Regions from separate parts of the Homo sapiens genome. Here region 2 is linked to region 1. Evidence: promoter capture Hi-C in human tissues and cell types (Jung and others, 2019). All regions are on one chromosome and are shown on one strand. Each heading gives the region's core, a stretch centred on a gene start or on the middle of the fragment in contact. The rest is flanking DNA. Distances are from core to core; before and after follow the strand shown. Region 1 holds the start of SGCA (sarcoglycan alpha). Region 2 holds the start of ACSF2 (acyl-CoA synthetase family member 2).

The links. Contacts are between HindIII fragments. The study calls those that stand out against the background at their distance.
Region 2: a contact is called between the fragment with the promoter of ACSF2 here and the fragment with the promoter of SGCA in region 1, in 1 of the 25 tissues and cell types used here (adrenal gland).

The regions. Positions count from the first base shown.
Region 1 is chr17:50,162,195-50,167,268 of GRCh38, forward strand. It overlaps SGCA (sarcoglycan alpha), which reads left to right and starts at 3,811. Exons shown (of 10, transcript NM_000023.4): 1 at 3,811-3,883. The coding sequence starts at 3,847. It overlaps LOC105371818 (a long non-coding RNA gene), which reads right to left and starts at 4,163. Exons shown (of 4, transcript XR_934833.3): 1 at 3,824-4,163; 2 at 3,017-3,285. RefSeq lists an enhancer at 1,405-1,905. The HindIII fragment of the contact is 20,868 bases long and covers 1-5,074 here.
Region 2 is chr17:50,423,839-50,429,061 of GRCh38, forward strand. It overlaps ACSF2 (acyl-CoA synthetase family member 2), which reads left to right and starts at 2,380. Exons shown (of 16, transcript NM_025149.6): 1 at 2,380-2,551. The coding sequence starts at 2,424. RefSeq lists an enhancer at 1,912-2,456 and a silencer at 2,193-2,512. The HindIII fragment of the contact is 9,502 bases long and covers 1-4,721 here.

The DNA.
Region 1 (5,074 bases), core at 2,561-5,060:
AACTGGGGATGACAAAACGGAGAGCTAAAGATAGGCAATGTGAGCACCAGAAGGGACCCTAGTTGCAATGGACTGAAGCAGTCAGATAGGTGTAAACCATGTATCATCATTCTACTACTACCAAAGAAGCTCGGACTGGCCAGAGTTTGGAGGATGCTAGGGAAACAGCTCTTTATTCAGAAACTGTTTAATACAGGAAGAGTCCAGCGTTTCTCCCGTCTTCCTTTTACGAACTTTCCCACTCAGTAACCAAATCGCAAGGGGCAGTTTCTGTCTATAATTATTCCAGCTAATAAAGGAAGGGGTGATCAGAGTGATCAAATCTGAATATCACTATTCTGCACACACACAAAAAATAAAACGCTAATGGCGGAGGCAAGACACTACTAAGACCACAGAAACGCATGATGTGCCTTCAAATGGAAGAACACTGTCACCACCTATGAAGTGGTCTCAACGAAGGAAATTGAACATAAACCTTATAAGGCCTCTAGATCCAACTACAAATTACAGTAACAATGTACAGGAAATACAACGTACAGGAAGTATGGAGGTGGGAGGAACATGTTAAAGATCACCATAGAGATGCAATCAGCAAAATCCAGAGGGCAAAAAACTACAGAAGAAATTTTCTGGCTCCTTCAAGGAACGAGAAAGAGAAGGGAGGGAGGGAAGGAAGGAAGGAAGGAAGGAAGGAGAGGGAGGGAGGGAAGGAAGGAAGAAAGGAGGGAGGGAGGGAGGGAAGGAAGGAAGAAAGGAGGGAGGGAGGGAGAGAAGGAAGAAGAAGGAGGGAGGGAGGGAGAGAAGGAAGAAGAAGGAGGGAGGGAGGGAAGGAAGGAAGGAGGGAGGAAAGGAAGGAAAGTATGAAGGAAGGAAGGAAGGAAGGGAGGAAGGAAAAAAGAGAGAGAAAGGATGTATGGGAACCTATAGATTTGAAGAAATTTAAAAGAGCCTTGGCCAGGCACAGTGGCTCACGCCCGTAATCTCAGCACTTTGTGAGGCCAAGGTGGGTGGATCACTTGAGGTCAGGAGTTTGAGACCAGCCTGGCCAACATGGTGAAACCCCTGGGCATGGTGGCACGTGCCTGTAGGCTGAGGCAGGAGAATTGCTTGAATCTGGGAGGTGGAGGTGGCAGTGAGCCGAGATCATGGCACTGCACTCCAACCCGGGTGACAGAGCGAGACTCTGTCTCAAAAAAAAAAAAAAAAAAAGCCCTATAAATCATCAATCAGTTGCAATGTGTGTATCTTCTTTGTATCTTGAGTCAAACAAATACACTGTAAAAATATGTATGTTTATGAGAAATTGGTAATTTGAACACTAGAAGTTTGATATTAAGGAATTTTATTGATGATGTTAATAGCTGAACGTGTTATGTGATTATGTTAAAAAGAGTCATTATCATTTAAAGATACACACTGAAATATTGATGGATGAAATTAATCAGGAGGGGTACAGATGAAACTAGACTGGCCATGAGTTGATAATTGTTGAAGCCAGGTGACAGATACACGGGGGCTTATTATAGTATGCTGCAAATTTTTCAAACTAAGAAGTTTAAAGACCCTGTGACCTCCCTTCCCACCCCTAGGCCCAATAGACAGAAGGTGCTGTGTGTTACAAGCAGCAGGTTGCAATCCAGACAGCTCTGAGTGGGAAGGTCCTCTGATGGCTGAGGGGCCTGAGAAGGGTTTCTGGGGACTTTCTGGCTTGTGGGACAGTCCCTGGCTCCCTTGAATTGGGCAGGGAGGATCTGATGGGGAAGTAGCTGCAGCTTTTCATTAAGGAAGGCTGGCCTCTGTGGGCCTGGTGACACTGGGGCCAGGCACTGCTACCTTAAGACAGCTGAGTGGGTGGCTCCAAAAATAGCCAGGGGGACGGCAGGGGGCGGGGAGTCACATGGAGAAGCTCAGGGGTGAGGCTGGGCAGGTGCCCAGGGGGTTGGCACTTCTGCCTGCTCCCCCAGAACCCTTGGGCTCTTCCTCTGCCTCCAGAACCTTTCTTCCTCCCTCCCTCTGTCTCTGAGAAGACAGAGAGATGGCCAGGTGATGCTGGGACAAATACTGCCTTGCCTGAGGGGACGCTGACTCTGGAATTTGGTGGCTCTCCAGGGATGAGCGGGTCAGTCAGGTGGAGAGAGAGAGAGGAAGGGACAAGGACTGCGTAACCTGCCTACCAGTCACCCCATCTGCAGGCCAACACCTGTGCCCTTAGGCTGGACCCAAGTGATCCTTGCCTGGGGTATTTTGTTGTCCTTTTGAGGCCCTGGAGGAGAGGTCACACAGGCACCAAGGATTTGGGAACCCTGGCAGCCATAGGTCCCCGCCCCCTTCTCAGGGCACCTGGGGAGAGTGCCCCTGTGCCTGCCCTAAGTGAGAGACCTGGGGAGAGGACACCGCGCCCCATCGCCCCTGGACTGAGATCCTTTGGCAGAGGCAAGAAGGAAGGGGAAGCAGGGCCGGGCAAGTACATCAGCAGCACAGTCATCGACTGAGCCAGGCACTGGGCTAAGCCGTCCACATGCATTCTACTCATCAGCAATGTGGCCTTGGGGAAGGTATACACCCCTGTGCCTCAGTTTTATCATCTGTTAAATGGGCACAGTAATAATACCTGCCTCATGGAACTGCTGAGGAGATGGAATGAGGTAATATAGGTAGATATATGTAAGATTCTCAGCACAGTAGCTGGCAGCGCTAGCTGGTATTACCCACTGGCAGGTGACCTCCATGTGGGCAGAGGTTTGCTTATCTTTGCAATTTCAATGTCTGATACATAGCAGGTGTTTCATAAATATGCGCTGCATTCATTACTTTGTGGAGTCCTCACAATGATGCCAAGAGGCAAGCACTATTCTTGCCAGTTTATAGTTGTGGAAATGGGCTAGAGGGCAAATGGTGCACTCAAGGCCTCATCCCCAGCAAGTGGCCAAGGTGGCCCACCTCCAGGCCTCCAAGTCTATGCGCCGAATGAACCCTGACTCCATGGGCCAGAGAGGGTGCCTCCTCCGCTCACCTGTCTCTAGCTGGCTGGTCCTGTCCAGGGCTTGCTAGACCTCCACGCTGAAGTGCTTGGACTGGGGATAAAGGCTGGGTGGATGGCACCTACGTTTGCTGTTAAGGAAGCTGCCGCCAGCCAGCTACACCTACTAGTTACCAGGCCCTGTGCCAGGCCCAAGGATACAAACGTGACAAGATCCTAGTCTTCGAGGAGCTTGGAGCAGTCTGTGTGATTGTGTTGTGCCCAGGAAAGCACGCAGGGGCTAAGGGGACACCCAGCTTGGCCTAGCAGAAGAAGGGAGGTCAGAAAGGCTTCAGAGAGGAGAGGACATCTGTGCAGAGTCTGGAAAGGTGACTGGAAGGTTGCTGCTTGAATGAAGGTGGGAAGGGAACTGCAGGCAGAGGCAATAGCCTGGACGACGGCTTGGAGACTTGAGAGAGTCTGCCAAGCTAGGCAGGAGCGGAGTGAGGCTGAGCAGGGGCCTGGGGTTGGAAGGGTAGGGGCAGAGGATGGGATTCTAGACCAGCTGACCAGGTTCAGGACAGGCCAGAAAGCCACCAACTGGGGATGAGCTGGGAACTCAGGGGCCATGAGAACCATTAGAGTTTTAAGGGAGGATGGAGGTGGCCTGGTTGGTGGTTTAAAAAACACTGTGGCCACTGGAGGGGACGGTTGGAGGGACAATGAGTGCGAGGAGGGTGTCTATCCCAGATTTGGTGCATGCTCCAGGCGGGGAGGGGAGGCTGACGCTGGGACCCAGCTGCCCCGAGCCACCTCCCTCCTTCCCTCCTCTCCTCCCTGCCCCCTGTCTCTGTCACTCACCGGGCGGGCCAGGCCGGGCAGCCATGGCTGAGACACTCTTCTGGACTCCTCTCCTCGTGGGCAAGTTGGGGCCTTGTTCAGCGGGGAGGCCCAGGATGAGGGGGCAGGATTTAGGGGTGGTAAGACGGAGGTGTGGAGGGCCCACAGAAGAGGGATCTGGGTTGGGTGAGGCAGGCGCCAGAAGGGCTTTGGGGTGTTAATGCCATGGCCAGCTGGGGATCCAGGGAATGGGGCTGGGAGCTGGGCTCTGGGATGAAGGGGCTGGGAGCTCTGAGGGCTGGAGGTGTCCTAGGGCCCGGGTGGGTCTGACAGCACAGGCCCAAAGGGTCGTGGGCCCTTTAATGAGCTGGCTGGGCCGCAGCTTCTAAGCCCAGGCTAAATTTGGCCCTGGGAGGGAGGGTGGAGCTGGCGGCCAGGTCCTCTGCTCCTCTCTTGGACTTAGGATTCCTTTTGCTCAGCTCCTACTGGCCTCTAGGGCAGGCCTTCTTCTTCCCTGTATTTTAGGGGAGGAAGGTGGGGGTCTCCAGGCCCAGAATGGCTACCCTTCCTCCTCTGTAGGCTCCTGGCCCCGTCTTCCTCTCCTCTGGGCTCTTGGGCATTTAGCATGGGATTCTTTTCCCAGTGCCTTTCACACATACACACCCTCACACACACACACACCCACACACACCCTCACACACACCCTCACGGCACCCTCACACACACACCCTCACACACACCCTCACACACCCTCACACACCCTCACACACACACCCTCACACACCCTCACACACCCTCACACACACACCCTCACACACACCGTCACACACACACCCCACACACCGTCACACACACCCCCCACACACACCCCCACATACCCCCACATACCCCCACACACCCCCCGCAAACACACACCCCCCACACACACCTTCACACACACACACCCTCACACACACCCTCTCACACACACTCACTTGCACACACACCCTCACACACATCCTCACAGACCCTCACACATACCTTCACACACACACCCCCCCACATCCCCTCACACACACACACACCCTCACACACACACTTCCCAGTCAAACATCAGTCCCTGCCCACTGCACCATTAATAGGGGCCTAAAACAAGGAATGGAAAGGTTGTGGGAGAGGTTCTCCCTCGAATCCCGAAACCCAGACGATTAAAATGTCTAGCCCAGCAGGGCTTGCTCCCCCATCCCCACCCCAATCCCTTCCTGGGAGGCAGCAAAGGAAGCGCTTCTCTCG
Region 2 (5,223 bases), core at 1,130-3,629, 260 kb after region 1:
AGGGGCGGGAATAAGGGCTTTCTCATGGTAGCCAATGGCATGAGCCAAATTACAGGGACCATAAATCATGCAAGTCACATGCAGCATAAAGGAGATGTGATGGCTCAGGCAGAAGGCCCCTTGGGGAGCAACGGGGAATTTAATTGGTTAAAGGGAAGGGAAGGGAAGCTGGAGAGCCTGGATGGCCCACTGCCCTGCTCCCCACTTCCTTATACTAGCCAAAGAATGCGGGTCAACGTGATTCCCCCACCATGACTCACGGACTTCCACCAGCCGTCTTGACTTTCTCCCAGCCCTCCTCCCCATCCACAGAACCAGTGCCTACCAGGGCTTTGCACAAATAAAACAATTCTCCCTCCTAAAAAAGGTTTGCAATTCCTACACAGAGGAAGGTCTTAGAGTGAAGACACAAGAGGAAGGAGAGGATGGAAAAAGAAACAATCACTGAAAACTGGCCGACTACCAGTTCTGTGCCACCTACTCAATTCTTACCCAGCCCTCTGCGTGAAGTTGGTATTATTATCCCCATTTGACAGATAACGAGGCTGGAGAGGCCCCGTGACTTGCCCAAAGCCACAAAGAGACTACTGGCAGAGCTTTGGCCTATGTTTAAGAAGCTGAACCTCTTTGGGATTCAGTTTCTTCATCCATAAAAACAAAGACACATTCCAAGCCATGCCTGTTCCTTGCAGGGTGTTTGTGAGGGTCAGAGAAAATGTCCTTGAAGAGCCTGGCATGTACAAGATACCCTGAAACTGATGGCTATGATGCCACGGCCTGTGCACCTAGGAAGAGTCAGGAAAGCCCAGTGTCTTGAAAAGCCGAGGCTGGAGCAAAGTTCAAGGAGGAACTCACTTCTCTCCCACTCTAGGACTGACCCTCAAACTAGCCAGAAGAGTGGAAGGACCTACAAGATCAGTACCCACCCCACACTTCATAGGCCAAGAGAGGGACAGTGGTTTACCCAGGGTCACCCAGCATGCTAGAGGCTAAGCCTGCCAGCCACGGCTGGGAACCCAGACTTGTGAATGCCCCAGCCCTCCACATTCCCTGGTCCGCTATCAAAGACAGTTAGTCTAATTAGGAAAGCACACCCTTGCAGGCCCAGCCTCCGGTGATCTCTTTGTTCCTCTGTCTCTTCCTGCCCCAACCCCACAGAAACTGAAGTGTGGGGACCCTCCCTAGGAACCGGGGTTCCAGGGAGGATTTGAGGTCACGCTCAAGATCATAAAGAGGCCCAGCATGGACTCCTTCTCATGACCCAAGTGGAGCCAGAGTTCCCAGATAAGGGCAAAGGTCACCTCAGGCCAGGCTCCACTCTCAGCCACCCCTTCTGCCTGGCAGGGTTTACTTCATCTCCTCCAGTCAGGAGAGGGGAGGTCACACTGCCAGGGCCTTTGCCCCATTCTTCTCCAGCTCCTTCTCTAGAGGAAGAGTCATGGCTAGGCCGAGGCAGTGTGGACCTGGAACAGGTATAAACTGTGCTACTCTTTGGTGCCCAGTGCCACTTTTCCTAGCCAGGACCAGAGCTATCACCTTCTCTGTCCCGCAGCTCTGCCCAGGTCTTAGTACCCCACTCACCCCTGGGCCTCAGGAACCCTAAGGAGGGGCATAGGGTTGCTTTCCATTCACACCTGGGGCAGCACAGGGAACTGTGCCACAGGCCCCAAGACAGGCAGATGGAGGATGAAATACACAGGTCCCAGTCCCTGAGGCCACCTTACGTGTCCGGCCCCCAACCCTGTGCAGAAGGTCAAGGCAGAGGCGCCGAGGAGGGATGGGAGGATGCCTCCTGTGAGATGGGGTACAACTGGTGTTCCTTCTGAAGCTGACATCTGGCCTCAGCTGGGACTCTGGCGCCAGCGGGCCCGCAGGGGGCTCACCCGCGACACCCTTTGTTCTGGCTGCCTCCCCAACCCCGCGGGGCCCTCTGCTCCAGCTGGCATGCCTCAAGGACGCTTCGCGCCTGCTCCTTTGGCCCCCGGCTCGCAAGTAGCGGGGCCAGCACGTGACCCGAGGGGGCAGGGGATGGATGGATCTTGACCTTGCCATCTGGCCCCTCACGGATGTGCTGCTGGCTCTCCCTCTAGGAAATCAACAAATTTTTGCGCTTCTAACATCCAGGCCCCTGAGGATGGTCGCGAGGAAGATCTGTTTCGGACTGCAGCTGGGGCCTTCGGATCCAGAGGAAACCAGGGCTATTCTTCGAGGGTGGGAGGGGGAGGGCCGCGGGGTCGGAGGGGAAGGTGGCCCCGCGCGAAGTCGCCGCCGCCGCGCCCCGCCCCGCCCCGCCGGCGGAGACCGAATCCGCCGCACCCCATAGGCAGAGGCCACCCTCCCCGCCTCCCCGCCCGCTGCGCGCCCGCCCCGCCCCGGCTCACTTTAAAAGTTTACTCGGGCCGGGACGCAGGGCAAAGCGAGCCATGGCTGTCTACGTCGGGATGCTGCGCCTGGGGAGGCTGTGCGCCGGGAGCTCGGGGGTGCTGGGGGCCCGGGCCGCCCTCTCTCGGAGTTGGCAGGAAGCCAGGTTGCAGGGTGTCCGCTTCCTCAGGTACTGGCCCCCCGCGGGAAGAGAGGGGGCGGGGCAGTTCCCCGGGAGAGGAACTTGGAGGTCCCGGCGAGCTTCGGAAGCCCCACCTCTGGACGAGTGCACTGGGGGGAAGGTACCCGCCCCTCCCCCGCCCCCCGCCAGCACCTAGGCAATAGGAAAAGCTGGCTTGGCCTGGTGGACTTGGGTGGGGAGGGGGCTTTGGTTGGTGGCTGCAGTGACTTCGAGTTCTGGTCCAAGACTCTCGATTCCTTCTCCTTTATGGGCACAGAGGGCAAGGAGTGTGGGCTTTAAGGAGAATATTCCGATGGGGAGGGGCAAGGGCCAAGGCCTGGGCTGTACCCCCAGGACACTGCCTCTGAGTTGGAACCCCTTCATGGGCAAACTTGGGGATCAGCCCCAGTCTCCCCGACCCAGGCCACTAAACTTAGCAGTCTCCTGTCTCCTCATCAGCTGCTCACTAACATGGCTTTAATTCTTTGCTGCCTACTCCTGGGCCTATTTCCTTCTGTCCTCAGTGCAAGGGGTGGGATGGAAGCTGGCAGGCAGAGGATTTCAGTTCCCAGTAGCTTCACTGCCTCTGCAGCAGCACAGTAAGTAAAGCTGCCTTCCCGGTGTGACCAGTCCTTGGGAGGACCCCGTGAGATGGCAAATGTGAAAGTGCTTGAGACACAGAGAGCAGGCTGCCACTCATGTTATCAGGGCTGTTAGCTTCAGCAGCACCACTGGGGAGCCCTGTGCACTACTGAGCCTGTCCTACCACTCAACTCGGCCAGATACTAAGTCTATGGTCAGGACAGCACTTTCAGCAACATCAGATGGGGTGTGGGCCTGGACATGGAAAAGGGAGAAGTCAGAACAAAGCTGTGTCTCAGAGAACTAGATTTGTTTTTGTTTTTAAAAAGGCTAAGTAGGAAGAGTTGGAGGGACATGCAGACTCCTTTTTGGCTAGAACTCCAAGATCACACTTTCTGAACTTGCTGATTTCTGAATGCTAGAAAGCATGCAATGCCTTAACATCACTCTGCCTAATTTGCTGAGAAAACTAAGTGGATCAAGGCTGGTCAGTAGATGGGATTGAGATGAGGACAGTGGGGTCCTCTTCCCAGTGACCCTGGGAAGTCACTCACTACTTCCCAGGGTCTCCCTAGACAAGTTCGGCCCTCCCCTGACCCCCTAGTCTCTTAAGCCTCTCCTCTGGACTCATGGCTGCCCCCTCAGGCTGGGAGGACTCTGAGGAAAGTTACTTCCCAAAGTGTACATATTTTATCACACTAAATCAGGCCACAGGGGAAGTCTCTCAGCCTACTCTGGCTCAGGAGGCTGCCCAATAGAAAACAAACAAACAAACCAATAAATAAGTAATAAATCAGGCCACATGGCAACATTTCTGACCTTTGACTTTTTTTTATCTATAAACAAAACAGGTCACTTACCTGCTACAGCCCTGGGACCTCTGAGAGCACCAAGCTTCAGAGAAATTCTTATTGCTGTGTCAGGAGGAGACTCATTTATCCAGACAGATGATTTTCTGAGTGTTTGGCCTACTTTCTTTCTGCCCCTTCCACTCCCTTGTGCCTGCACCCTTATTGTCTGACTGTGATGGTTTTACCTGATTTCTCTCCTACTTTCCCCTTCAGAAGCCTCAGGGCTCAGGCCAGGCAAGGTGGTTTATGCCTGTAATCTCAGCACTTTGGAAAGCAGAGGTGGTAGGATCACTTGAGCCCAGGAGTTCAAGGCTGCATTGAGCCGTCATCATGCCACTGCACTCTAGCCTGAGCAGCAGAGCAAAACCTAGACTCAAAAAATAAAAATAAAGGCTGGGTGGGTGGCTCATGCCTGTAATCCCAGCACTTTGGGAAGCCCAGGCAGGCAGATCACTTGAAGTCAGGAGACCGGTTTGGCCAACATGGTGAAACCCCGTTTCTACTAAAAATACAAAAATCAGCCGGGCGTGGTGGCATGTGCCTGTAATACCAGCTACTAGGGTGTCTGAGGCAGGAGAATTGCTCCAACCTGGGAGGCGGTGGTTGTAGTGAGCCAAGACTGCACCTCTGCACTCCAGCCTGGGTGACAGAGGGAGACTCCATGTCAAAAATAAATAAATAAAAATAAAGGCCAAGCATGGTGGCTTATGCCTGTAATCCCAGCACTTTGGGAGGCTGAGGTGGGCGGATCACTTGAGGTCAGGAGTTAGATCAGACTGGCCAACATGGAGAAACCCCATCTCTACTAAAAATATAAAATTAGCCTGGCGTGGTGGCACATGCCTGTAATCCCAGCTACTTGGGAGGCTGAGGCAGGAGAATTACTTGAACCTGGGAAGCGGAGGTTGCACTGAGCTGAGATTGCACCACTGCACTCCAGTCTGGGTGACAGAGAAAGACTTCATCTCAAAAAAATAAAAATAAAAATGAAAAAAGAAGCCTCAGGGCTGAAACCATCAGCAAACATTCCTGAGAACAGATTCTGCGTCATGCTAGCACATGCTGTGCATATAGAGGCCACAGAACTCAGTCCTCACCCTGCCAGGAACTTGCAGCCTCGTAGGAGGAGAAATAAATCAAGGTGAGCACTATTCGGTGTTGCAAGTGCCATGGTGAGGAATGCGCTTGGACTTTCGTCCTCTGTTTTCTCCGATCTGCTCACACACAGCCTGCTTTCCTGTTGCCCAA